Linked DNA regions of Homo sapiens: regions 2 and 3 are each linked to region 1. The links are contacts of gene promoters, found by promoter capture Hi-C in blood cells and fetal thymus (Javierre and others, 2016). All regions are on one chromosome and are shown on one strand. Each heading gives the region's core, a stretch centred on a gene start or on the middle of the fragment in contact. The rest is flanking DNA. Distances are from core to core; before and after follow the strand shown.

Evidence for each region. The method cuts DNA at HindIII sites, captures the fragments that hold promoters and counts their contacts. A CHiCAGO score of 5 or more calls a contact.
Region 2: a contact is called between a fragment that was not itself captured here and the fragment with the promoter of FLI1 in region 1, in 1 of 17 cell types (activated CD4 T cells). The highest score is 5.3, in activated CD4 T cells.
Region 3: a contact is called between a fragment that was not itself captured here and the fragment with the promoter of FLI1 in region 1, in 4 of 17 cell types (total CD8 T cells, activated CD4 T cells, naive B cells and 1 more). The highest score is 5.9, in total CD8 T cells.

Annotation. Positions count from the first base shown.
Region 1 is chr11:128,691,833-128,696,273 of GRCh38, reverse strand. It overlaps FLI1 (Fli-1 proto-oncogene, ETS transcription factor), which reads right to left and starts at 2,202. Exons shown (of 9, transcript NM_002017.5): 1 at 1,998-2,202. The coding sequence starts at 2,015. It overlaps SENCR (smooth muscle and endothelial cell enriched migration/differentiation-associated lncRNA), which reads left to right and starts at 251. Exons shown (of 3, transcript NR_038908.1): 1 at 251-361; 2 at 2,883-3,619; 3 at 4,153-4,441. RefSeq lists silencers at 1,171-1,300, 1,351-1,570, 1,611-1,660, 1,881-2,250, 2,934-3,073 and 1 more and a cis regulatory region at 1,982-2,714. The HindIII fragment of the contact is 9,137 bases long and covers 1-4,441 here.
Region 2 is chr11:128,391,774-128,396,214 of GRCh38, reverse strand. No RefSeq gene overlaps it. Among named protein-coding and RNA genes, the nearest start is that of MIR6090, 130 kb to the left of the region's middle. The HindIII fragment of the contact is 737 bases long and covers 1,389-2,125 here.
Region 3 is chr11:128,432,376-128,436,816 of GRCh38, reverse strand. The region is part of intron 1 of LOC124902789 (a long non-coding RNA gene); the gene reads right to left. Among named protein-coding and RNA genes, the nearest start is that of MIR6090, 88 kb to the left of the region's middle. The HindIII fragment of the contact is 536 bases long and covers 1,514-2,049 here.

The DNA of each region.
Region 1 (4,441 bases), core at 953-3,452:
TGTGGGGACTCAGCCTAGCCAGGTAACTTAGGTGAATGACAGGTTGCTCACAGGGAGGGTTTGGAGGAGCTCATGGCTCCTACCACCCACAAAAAAAGGAAGGACTTTCACTCCCATCCTTGGCCTGAAGTGTCAGGTTCCTGCTCTAAGCCTGTTCTCGAGGCCTGCCATGCCAATCCCTGTGTGTATCTAAAGAGGTTAGCACATCCTGGGTACACAGACCACAGCTTCCTCCTTTTGCTCAGGGCCTGTGCGTAGAGTTTAAGCAGTGTGGAGATATTTCTTCACTTTTCCTTAGGGTGTCCACATCAAGACCCTGAGGCCATCTTACCACCCTTCTGGATCAGAAGAGGCCTTCAGAGTAAGTGGTAACTGTCCTGATTGGGGCGAGGGAGTTTTCTAGAGGGGAGCATCTCATTACTAAACCCAGAAATACAGAGACACTTGCATGAACACATCAACAGGAAGCAGAGAAACAGGCATAAAATGGCCCAATGACCCCCACTCTCGGGTCTTTGCAGGAATCCCCTCTCACCTACTTCTCACCTACTCACTTTGGGTTTGAGGAACCCAGGCTCTTATAGGCTCTTATAGCTCCCTTTAACCCATCACAGTCAGTTATCTCATCTCCAGATTTGCAAGTTCCTTCGGTTGGTGTCTTTTACCTAAGTCAGCATATTTCAAACTTTCATAAAAAAAACTTAGAAAATAAAAACCACGACCCCACCCAGAAGATAAAAATCTCTTGAATTCTCTGAGCCCAACATCTTAGCCTTCTCTTGCTGAGCCCTGAGCAGGGAGTCGATTCTTTCGGGTTCTGGGGAATGGCGGGCTCTGCCAGTCCCCACCTCGCCAGCCTAATAGTTTTTCCAGACAGACTCCCGCTTGGTGTTGCGCGGCAGCCTCGAAGCTAACCCCTGGTCCCATTCATTCCCCTAGGTCCTCTAAGGCCCGTCACGTTAGGGGGTGTCCCTCCTCTCTGCTCCTGGCCCTACTTGGCGAACCCTTTCAGAGACAGCAGTCAACTTTTCTGAAGTGAGACGCGAACCCAAACCCTCACCTTTCCGCCTGGGTTGCACTTTGCAACCTAGACCCAGGCTTGGCGGCGGCGGCTGGGGTGGGAATGGCCGGGCGGGCGCGGGGCGCGGGCTCACAGCCGGCCCCTGCAACGGAGGCGGCTCCGAAGGACGCAGGACCCTTTCGGAGGCGACAGCTCCAGGAGCCCTGGTCCTGGAGCCGGCGCACGCCTAGGCGCGAAGGGCGGGGGCTCGGGGCGCTAGGGATCTGTGCGGACGGGGGCTGGGGAAGGTTCCCCGCCGGAGAGGCGGCGAGGCCGGCCCAGGAGTCCCGCGGAGCCGGCGGCTCTCCAGCGCCTAGAGCCGGGCGACTGAGTGCCGAGAGGAAGGGAAAGCGCTGACATGTAAACAGGGGCTTCCATCTGGAGGAGCCCGCTCAGATAGATCCCCCGACACACTCACTTGCACCCCTACCCTCGTGCAACGAGGCCACTTACCCACCCCAGGGCCCACCAGGCAGGGACCCGAGCCCGGGCGACTGCAGCCCCCGCCCCCGCCGTGTTCCGCCTCTGCGGAGAGGAAGCCCAGTGCCTAGCGCTGGGGCCACGGGAGCCCCGGGTGTCGGTGGGAGTGGTGGACCCCGAGGTCTCTCGCCCTTGACTCCGTTCCGTACCCTGGGGTCCCCCGGTTTCCCGCCGTCCCCTCCTGCAGCCCCGGCGGGCAGCGAGGTGGGAGGGGGGCCGGGGCTCCACTTTGGGGGCTGGGATTTCGGGGGAGGGTCGCCCTCAATGCGGGCGCCTGGCCGGCTGGCCCGCGAGTAGGACTCGCCACCCGAGCGCCGGAGGAGCCGGCGCGAAGCCGGGGCGCGGAGGGAAGGGAGAGAGGCCACGTCTTCCGGGACGCGGGCCCCGCACCTACCCGCCCGCCGCTTCGCCTCCCCGGCCGGTCCCCGCCGCCCGCGTCCGTTGCCCCGCCGCTTACCTTAATAGTCCCGTCCATTTGGCCAAGTCTGCAGCCGAGCCCCCCAATATTCCACACATTGACCCGGTTACAGCCTGACCTCGCAGCCCCTTCGGATTAGCCCGGCGCGGCCTCCCTGGCGCCCTGGGCCCTCCCTGCGTGCCCCCTGCGAGCGCCCTGCCCTCACTCCCCTGTGCACGTTTGTTGTTGTAGCGGAGCGAAAGAGACAGTTAACCGGATGAAACTTTTTTTTCAGCTAATTTTGGGAAGTGACTTCACTTTGCGAATCGGGGAGGAAGTCCTATCTCTCTCTCTCTCTCTCTCTCTCTCTCTCTCTCTCTCTCTCTCTCTCTCTCGCCTCGAGCTCTCCTCTCTCTTCTCTCCCCTCTGCTCTCCCTCGTCTTCCCTCCCCCCCCACACCCCCTCTTCCTCCCCTGCTGGTCCTGCTTTTCGCATCACACACTATATAAATATACGCGGAGATGCCCAGACACATTCATGCGCTGCGCACACAGGATACTTGCTCCTGGGAGATAAGAGCTAGCCGGGAACAATGACGGGGTCCACGCCCAGCGTCCGCGCCCTGATTCCCGAAGTCTGAACCTCCCCCCATCACCTTCCCCCAAAATCCAAAGCCAAAGACCTTTGGCTTCTTTGCTTTTCCTGAGGCGGTTGGCCGAAGGTGGCCCTCCTGACTCATTCACTTTCCGTTTCTTCCCACAGATACGTTCATTAATGCTTTTTCCAGCCGGAGACAAACTTTTTGGGGGTGGGGTAGGGGGGGTATGGAGGGAGAGTTGGCTAGGGCTGCGGGTAACCCAGCGCCTACTGCCGGGGAAGACTCGGACGAAAACCGAGGCAAACCAACCATTAAAAAGTGCATCCAATAAGAATTTTTCCACTCAGGCCCTCCGCTGCCGAGACGCGGCAGACTCCCAGAGCGGCTCACCCACTCATCGAAGCGGATTCTGGGCGGTTTCGGGCTGACCCGCGCTGTCAGGGCGCGGACTCCATTCCGGGCGCATTGTTAGGAGAAGGGGCCCCTCGGGGCGGCGCGCCTCGACCCTGGGCTCCCGGTGCCCGCAGAGGGCGGAGATCCGCGGCGCCCTAGGCCACCTATCCGCATCTTCTCGAGCCAAACCCCCAGCGCTTACCCGGACCCGACGGCCCAAGCACTGACTCCCAGGCAAGAGTCGCCCTTCCTGGTCCCCAGGGAACTGACACTACCGCGGGACGTTCCCTCTAGGACAGTCAGCAGGTCCCAGGAGCGCAGCACGCAACAGCGCAGAGCAGACCCAGACTTTTCCCGGGGTGAGACCCGGAGGCCCGCGCTCTGGACCGTCCTCCCTACCCAGCCTGGAGGCCGGCGTTCCCCGGCCCAACCCGGAGACCTCCCCGCCTCCCTCCTGGGCCGCCGCGCGCCCCAGTTGGAGCAGCCTCGAGGGGCTGGGCCCTTTCGGCCGGACTCCCTTCTCCCGGACATCCAAAACAGGTTACCTTGTCCACGCTCTCCGGACCACGCTTTGGACTTGCTCACTTTTATTTAAGAGTCCGACGGGGGAAAGAGGGAAAAAAAATCCAGAGGAGATCCAAGTCAATTGGAAGAAAAAATTTCAAAAGGGTGTCCACAGAGGCGAAAAAAGGTGACTTATTAATTCTTTATTTCTTCAGGAGCAATTGAGCCCGAGAGCTCACTCGTCTCCCTCCCTCCCCCTCCCTCTCTAGAAATTAGTCTCATCAATTCGGCTCCAATTTTGGGTTCGAATACAGACACGGGTCTGAACGTGACCAGACCTGGAGTGGCGGGTGCAGCCTGCCAGCAATTGAGACTTGGTGTGCGTGTTGGGGGTGGGGGTGGGGTGGATGGTGGGATGGGGGCCGGGCTGACTCCCCCCGCTCCTGTCTGCTTCTCAATCCAGGGGTCTGCTCCGGGGCTCCCCTGGGACCGCCACATCTGGTTACCGCTAGCGGGGTCAGTCCCCCCCTTTGCCTGGGGCCACCAGTTCTGGAGTTCAATTAAAAGAAATCAGGCTTAACCCTTTCCTCCCCGCGGCAGGCTGCCTGCCCTCTCACTCCTCCCTTCAGCGTTTCCACGTGCTTTCCAGAGAGGAAAGAGGTTAACGGGAAAGGAAGAATGAATTACATCCTTTCAAACCCCAAATTGTTTCCTTTTCAGCCCAGGCTCTACCGACCTTCAAACTACAACAGAGCTTTCAGGAGAATGCGGAGAGACGGCTTCCCACCCGGACCTCACCAGAAACCCGCACACCCCAGCCACATTGCTCCTCATTCAGCCAGAAAGGACTCCAACTCCACCACCAGGAGGCCCCCCTTCCTGGTGCTGGCCAGTTGCAGAGGCTGTTCATGGCATCCCACAGGTGGCGACTGCCCCCCACCCTCCTCCTAGCACTTTAGAGGGTCCCTCTGTGGCAGACACCATGGCTAGGTTTCTCTTTCCAACTCCT
Region 2 (4,441 bases), core at 508-3,007, 300 kb after region 1:
TAAGTCCTGGATTCTAAAGGCCCAGGAACCTGAAGCTCTGATATCCTAGGGTAGGAAGAGTTGGATGTCCTAGCTCTAAAAAAGAGAAAGAATTTACCCTCCCTCTGTCTCTTTGTTCTACTTGGACCTTCAGTGGATTGGATGATGCCCATTCACATTGGTGAGGGTGAACTTCTTAATCATAGCCAAATTTTAATCATCGCAATTTATACCCCAGACATGTTAAATACTTACATTTCTTTGAATGTTTGTTTTCTTTCTTTTTGGTTTTGTATGTACTGTTTGTTTTTCCTGGAAAGTTTTTTTCTGAAACTTGTCCATCTGGTGAATTTACGTTAATTCTTCAAGATTCAATTCAATAGTTTCTGTGAAGCCCTCTCTGATTCCCTACTCCAGAATTGACCTCTCCCTCCTTTATACAAAAACAGTTAATTTCTTCTTTCCACATTTCTTGAGCACTTGTACGTTGTGCATTGAGCTAGGCTCCAAAACAATTGTAACGTGACTCCATTCCCTCTTAGCCTTCTCAATATAGTAAACGAGAAAGAAAAATATCCAGATAATTACAATGTTAAGTGTGTGAAGGGTGTGTTGGGAAAATCTGAGACATTCTTTGGGAGCTGATGGGAGGGACACATAACCTATGGGGAGGAGACATCATTGTTACCTTTTGGATAAACTGACACCTGAGCTGAGCCTAGAAGGATGAGTAAGAATTAACTGGGAAGAGAGGGCAGGGTAGCACACCAGTAGTGAAAGGAGAAACAGAGGCCACATCTTGAAGGCAAAGGATGATGCCTTTGTGAGGCTTCAAGTCATCAGGTGCTTGCAGAACATAGTGTGAAACGCAGCGTGAAACTGTAGTGGGGGGCAGAGTTCATCATGGTGTTAGTAAAAGCTGGAGAGGTAGACTAAGATCCTTTCCAAAATAATTATTTGTTTATATCCTTTATCCTCTCCTCTCCTTGAGAGAAGCAGTCTTGTTTTATTCAGCTCTGTACTTCAGTGACTAGCACAGTACAAATTTATGGAGGGCATTCACACACATTGAATGAGTGAATGGGCGGATGAGTGAGATGAAGATGGGATCACAAATTAACTGTGAACAGCCCACGAGGAAGAAACATGGATCTTCACAAAGCATTTGGGTGACTTTGCTAAAGGATGTTGATTTCATTCTTTTTACCCCTCATTTCATCCATTTTATTACCATATATTTCCTAAAGAGAAGGTCTGGCCAATATCAAAACAAAGCAGACTACTCTGTTTTTAATTACCTTTTTCAAGGCCGCACTGGCAAGGCAAAGGCTGCCTGGGTCTGACTTGAGCCACAATCAGAAACATATTGTATGCTTTCCTTGTAAGCGCTGAATGGAGTGCATGAAGCTTATATTGATAAGGGTTGAATTTTAGGTTTTATCTTTTAATAGGGGTGATAAGATTCGAATGCCTCAGCCCTCTGTGCTATCTGGGTGCTGATGGTGGGAACAGTCACCAAAGTGATGTGCTGGTCAGTGGTGGGGGCCCTGGGCTAACCTCAGAAAAACACAAATATGAGTGGGTGGAGTGGTTGCTTTCCATGAGAATCTTTCTCCCTCTCTTTCACAGCCTGGCCCACACGATTGGGCCCTTTGCCAGCAAGCAAAGCAATGGATTATTTTTTCCATTGGTCAGAGGATGTTTTCTTTCTTTTTTTTTTTCTTTTTGTGAATGGAGATAAAAAACTTTCATTTTAAAGGAGAACTTTAGGAATTTCATTTTAGTAAAATGAAAGACTACCCAGATTCCCAGGAAGCATTGGAGGAAGGAGCAGAGCCTGGGGCAGCAGGGGCCCTTGGAATCATGCAGATGTGAGTGTCAACCCCGTTTCTGCTGCAGGCCAGCTGTGTTCCTCTTAGAGTCCCTCTGGCCTTTGGAGCCTCCAACCTCTTGATAATATAGGGAAATTTTTAGGTAAATAAAATGAAATAAGTGTGAATAACATATTTAGTAGACACTCAACATGTGCTATTTTCCTTCCTTTGCTCTTGAACGGAAACAAAGGATGACACTGTCTTCCCATCAGTCTTCTGTATATTTGGGGGAAAAGTCAAGAATACAAACCTAAGAATCCCAAGGGAAAGCTTTGCATATACAATGTCTTATCCTGCTGGCTGATCTCATTCACTTCAACTCACCAAATATTTATTAAGTATATGCTTGTGCTTACAATTGCTTATGATTGTGGAGTTTACAGTTGGATAAGAGATGCTAGCTGAGCTTTGTCTTCAATAAACATATCTCTTTATTTACGACAATGACAGAACTTTGTATGCCGGGCAGGTAAATAGAACAGGGCAATATGTATGCGGGTGTGCGTGCGTGTGTGTGTGTGTGTGTGTGATCATGCACATAAATAGTTTTGTGAGGTGAGAGATCAAGGGCTGGCAGAATGAAGGGACTTTTTAATTATTTAGACTGAATTGGGAAGGGCTGTACAGTGAGCAAAAATGTCATCCAGACAACTGTTTTTCCATATGGGCTATACTTTGGCCAAGGACAGAAGCCTTTGGATTTCATAAATACTTGGTGCATTTCCCTCTTCATATTTCTTGATGTGCCCAAAACATTGGTGCCTCCATGCCTCTAGGCCAGCTCTTCCTTCTGGCTGTAATTCTCTTCACCAGCTATGGAAATTGAACTCATTCTTCCAACTCCAGCTCAAAGCTCAGCTTCTCTATTAAGCCTTCTTTCCTTTTGTCTATTACCTCATGTAAACACAAGATACATATCTTAGGAGTGAATGAAATCAGTCTTATAAGTGGTTTTGAAAGTTAATTTCTCTCAAAAATTTTCCATTCATCCCCAAATTGGCCTGGGATCTTTAATAACTCCCCAGTAGTCTATCAGTTCTCGTTACCATCTTCTCCCACATCACCTCTTACCAGAGTCAGAGAACAAAAGCTTCTACAGAAACATAAAACCCACTCTGCCCTTAGCTTATTTTTTTTGAAAGTCAACTCAACAGTCAGAAGGAAAAGCAGAACTCTGTATGTTTTGCAACACACCTGCCCCTCTCAACAAATTCATCGAGACCACACAGATTAATAGTGCAAATGTTGGAGAGACGCAGAAATTAAGGAAGGATGTGAAGAACATAAAATATTAAAATAATAGTGGGACACAAGCCATTTATCTGCTTCAAGAGGGTGTGGACAAGGGAAAATTCACTCACCTCGTAGCAGTATGATACCAAACCAAGAGACTGAAAACAGAAGAAATCCAATGCAATCATTTACCCAAATCATTAATCTTGCCAATTTTCTTCTTTGACATGTGGGAATCAATTTAAAGTGCTCTGATTCCATAGATAATATGAAACTGCCATCCCACTAGGGAAAACTCTATAAATATTCCTTTAGTTACTCCTCTCTAAAGTGGGAATGGTCTCTAAGATGTGAGTAACGATCATCTAATCAGAAGGGACTCATGACCTGGCCAGGCCTTAGGACCTTGGCTGATGAGTTTCCCAAAATATCCCAAAAATACTGATTTTCAGTTGTCCCATTGGACCCAATAAAAATATTAAATTCTCAATAAAAATATTGAGTCCAATGGGACAACTGAAATTCAATAGGAAGCCCTTCAGTCTTCTGGGATTTATAGAGTGTTCAGAAGACAAATTCTGGGGAAACCCACAGAGTGTGGCTGAAATTTCAGCTTGGTTTCTGGATAAGCTGAGTTCTACTGAAGCCACACCCACCTCTGCTCTGGTCCTCCTTTCTTTACCCTGTTTATCCCTGTGGGTTGTGGATAGGGGCCTGGGCAGGATGATCTCCTAATAGAATGCGTAGCCCATCCTCAGTTCAGCATTCACTTGCTTCAAATGCTTTCTGTGGGATTTCGGTTTCTATCAGGTCTTGTTTTTAGCCTTTTATCAAAAAAAGCTCTCTTGCCCCTTATGCAATTTTTCAGGTAGTGACAACTTTTCTTAAAAAAAAAAAAATTGGAGGCAGCTCTAAACAGCTTCCAGAGCAACACACAGCTGGTTGTTACCACTTTGCTGACTGAATTCATAGCACTTTCTTTGCCTTTTGCCCCCAAAATCAAATGGAAATTCATTGGCAAGGATATAAACATAAGTTTTTTCCATCTCTTTTTTATCAGGAAAAAACACTGGAAAAACAGATTGCATGCCTGGGCTGTTGGCCCTTGAAATTCCCTGCCTCGTCAGACCTGTTATCTCAGTAACAAGAACAGTTTAGACAGTAGGAATCTAATCAGCTTTCACTTCAATTAGCCCCAGGACAAGTAGGCTGGACTCTCTCTCCTCTTCAGGGACAAGAACTGGGCATTTTAAGAGATTCAGCTCTACCACAAATGGAAGAAGAGTTTCAGCCATATTCTGTCGGTCATTTCCAAGTAAAATATATTTTCTTTTTGAAGGGGCCAGAGGCTGCAC
Region 3 (4,441 bases), core at 532-3,031, 260 kb after region 1:
TCCTGCTTCAGCCTCTGGAGTAGCTGGGATTACAGGCGCCCACCACCACATCCAGTTAATTTTTTTTTTTGTATTTTTAGTAGAGACGGGGTTTCACCATCTTGGCCAAGCTGGTCTTGAACTCCTGACTTTATGATCCACTCACCTCGGCCTCCCAAAGTACTGGGATTACAGGCATGAGCCACACTTTTAATGTATATTCCCAGATTTCTCTCCAAAATGATTTATCTTTATATTTCTACTAATGGTATATGTGAGCAGCTGTTTCTAAATAAAAATAACATCTCTCCAGTCTGTTCTATAACATCTCTCCAGTCTGTTCTATAACATCTCTCCAGTCTGCTCTATTACATTCAAGTCTTTCAACTGTAATCATCAATGAAGGTAAATAATATATTAGAGAGGGAGAATCTAATGTTATGTCTTTTTCCTAAGGCAAAACATCTCTTCTACATCTTAAACTCCTGCCTAAACTCCTTTCTTAACATCTCCTTCCCTTTTGCCCCTACTTTTGGGCAGCCTCAAAGGAGCTAGGCTCATCCCTCAGCCCCAGCCACTCTCCCAAGAGGTTTACCAGCTCTCATAATTTCATTTAGCACTTTTGTAATAATGATCTTCAAAATCTAACTGCTCTTCTCTTATGTCATTAATAACACATTCTTTTAATATTTATGGTCAGAAACTGAGACATCGACTTCGACTTCTCCTTTTCCCTCCTTGGCTATATCCAATCTCTTACCAAGATTTTTTGGTCATATACATAGGTGTCTTTGTTTCTTTTTTTTTCTTTATTTTTATTTTTTTGAAATGGAGTCTTGCTCTGTCGCCCAGGCTGGAGTGCAGTGGTGCGATCTTGGCTCACTGCAAGCTCTGCCTCCCGGGTTCACAGCATTCTCCTGCCTCAGCCTCCCGAGTAGCTGGGACTACAGGTGCCCGCCACCACGCCCGGCTAAGTTTTTGTATTTTTAGTAGAGATGGGGTTTCACCGTGTTAGCCAGGATGGTCTCCATCTCCTGACCTCGTGATCTGCCCGCCTCGGTCTCCCAAAGTGCTGGGATTACAGGCGTGAGCCACCGTGCCCGGCCGGGTGTCTTTGTTTCTTTTTTGCCTGCCACCTCTCTCTGTAATTCAGTCTACAGGCAAGCAACAAATGTTAGATCCTCAGATCCCAAGTTTAGATTTTACATTTGAGTCATATTCGATAACTGACTCTTTTAGCCCCAATTCCAAATTCTCTGAGTGGGTCATGTACCTATTTCTAGATCAGTTAGGTATGGCCAAGGGTGAGGGTCACATAGCAGAAATATGAATGGCTGTTGGTCCCTATAGGTGGGATGTGTTGTTTCCAAAACAGAGGGTCTGAGAGGAAAACTCCATAGGAGGCCATTAGCTGAATCATTGAAACATCAGAGAAAGAAATTCAAATGTTATCAGTTACCAGAATTTGGGAAATATTCAGTATCTTTTTGATGAGCTTTCAGTTCAAATATAGATTTCCTGAGTAAATAAAGCTTAATTTTATGCTGGAAATTTTTATATAATTATTTGATGAAAAAATAATAAAAATGATAACAATATTTTTAAAAAATAACAAGATAATTTTTTTTGAAAGTGAAAATAATACAAATGGAAAAGGATACATCATTCTATCTTCCTGTCTTTGGTTTAGACAGAAAATCACACCACCAGCGACCAGCAGCCTTTGCAGACCCACATTTTCTTCACATGGACACGTAGCTTGTGACTCGTCTGCTGCAAAGGTTTATGGCCTTCACCTCCCTGTTGTTTCATGCTGCTGGAGGGACATTAGCACTCTGGGTGTTCCCAGTTGTGAAAGGATCTTAATATGAGTTGAATTAGGATCAGGAATGGTAAGCAGACAGGTCTAGAAGAGGCTTCCCCACAGTTTAAAATATTACTCTTACTACATTAACAACCAAAATTAAGCTCAAAGAAAACAATGAAACTCAAGGAGACAGTCACTCTTTTGACTTTTACATTTTCAGGCATCCCTATTAAGTATTCCAAGGTAAAGAAGTACATCAAGCTTTTCCTGCCTCATCTCTCATATTCTATACTTTTTTCATGCAGAATTTTTTCACCCAGGGTTTGCTGTACAATTTCATGCCTCTGGGCTTAAGCAACTATTGTTGCCTTTGTCTTTTCTGTGTAGCAAGAGTCGATTTCTTCTGTGTACTAAGGGTCATGTGGCAAGAGTCTACTGCTTCCCCAACATCTGGATCAAATACCTCTTCTTCTACGCAGGCTTTCGTCAAATCTTTCCTCCTCTTCCACTTCTACTGGTACAGCAGTTCCTTTCTATGTGAACCCATCACACTTTGACTCCTCACTCTTTAGTATTTAACAAATAGGTTGAACACGTACTTTGTGTCAAGTATAAGTAGTTGACTTGTATAGGATGAAAATATTAGATGAAAAAGCATTATTCTCGCCTACAAATAGCTTTTAGTTTCATCAAGAGACACAAAAATGAAAATACTATATAACATGTTGGCACTTTTCTTCTTTACTCCTGGTGTTTCCTTTAATGTGGAAGGAGCTCCATTAGTGTGACACTCCCAGCTTTTCTCTGCTCCTTGCTTGCTCCCCTCCCAGGAATACTATGTTTAATGGGTGGGTTTTGAAAGAAGAAATTAGTCCTGCCCGTGAGGGATTTATATTTGTTTTTGTTAGGCCATGCCATAATTCTCATACTGGTATAGGCCCCCGAGTGGGGAAAGGTGACCTGTTCATCTGAGCCTGCATTTGGGAGTGTAAGTTAGCCTAATCTGGAAATATCATTAGGAAGCTCCCTTGTCCAATTGCCCTTAGGTGTAAACTCATCGCTGTTACATCAGCTTCATCAGTAATAAGGGTCATATTTTGGTATCCTGTCTCATATGCTGTTTTTTGTTTTTATTTTTATTTCTTAATTTTTGCAGAGCTTGGGTAGAAAAGGAGAGTGCTATTAATATGTTCTGCTCCTTCCAACCCTCCCCATCATTCATGTAGACAGGTGCAGAGCACAAGGAACTTGAGAAAGGGGGACCCAAAGGAATCACAGACGTTGTCACAGACGAAGCAATGTGAAAATTCTTAGGGAAAAAGTCGGAGTGTTTGGTGGACAGGACAGAGACACTGTTCCTGTTATGGGAGACAACGTGTCCACAGCAGGAGCACAGTGGTTTCACGGAAGAATACATCCACTGGGTGGAGGCACTGAGGGTGTCCAGAGCTGGGACTGGATAGGAAAATAAGAATCGATTCACAAAGGGATCTGTCACATTAAGGAATTCCGTTACTTTTCAATAGCCAATGGGGGACCACAAAAGAATCTTAAATTGAGGAATGCTATGAGAAAATTTGGGCGTCAAAAATATGATGTGAACAGCAGTGAGAACCTGACTCAGCGGGGGTGAGAGAGAGCTGGGGGCTAGAGATGGGTTGTGCACCAGTCCATGTGGGAGCTGACAAGGGACCCGAGCAAGCAGTGACAACAGGAGAGGAGCAAAAGGAAGGGGCTCAGGAGATCTTGGAGAGGTAGAGGCTGGGATACAGTGACTAAATGTGGGAGATAGGGGAGCTGGGAAGGCCCATGCTTGCTCCTAGATTTTAGGATTGGGCATCTACAAGTGGAAAGGAGGGGGTGTCTCTAATCTTTAATCTTACCATCTAAGATGTTGCATCATAATTCATTGATAATTCAATCACACTTGGTCATGACCTCTTCAAAAAGAGTAATGATGGCTTTCAATTGAGTATCCACATGGCCTAGCATATTGCCTGATATATTGTGGGCTCAAAATACTTCTTTCATTTTTCATGTTTTCTGAAAAACACATATAGTACTTACTATGTGCCAGATACTATTCTAAGTTCTTTACAAGTATTATTTCACATGCTCTTTGTAACAATCCTATGGGATAAGCATTCATATCCTCCCTTTGCAAATTAGGAAACTGAGGCACAGAGCTGAAGTACTTTGCTTGAGGTGATACCAAAATAAGTGGCAGAGCTGGGTGTCAAGCTCATGCAGCCTAGCTTTGGGGATGTTGCTCTCAACCCTTGTGTTACACTGAATAAATATACAACTCTCTTGAAGCCTGCTAGGTTAATACCTCCAAAGTGACTTCTATCCATTTTCAATTGATTAACATCTTTACAACTCAGCTGAGCTTTCCTTTGACCCTCCAGTGCCTCCTTGAGCCAAGGCTGGGTTTGCTGCCCCTCCTGTGGGTTTTCAGGGTCCAGTCCTTGCCTCTGTCAGGGGGCAGACGCTTGCACCTGCTTATTCATTCCGGCTGGTGAGCACCCTGAGGGCAGGAGATTGTCTAACATGTGTCTATGGTCAGAGCACCTAGCATTCATTTATTTTGGCTAAAACCAGAAACAAATCACCCAACAAAGTTGATGCCCATGTGGCAGGACCAGGAAGACCCTT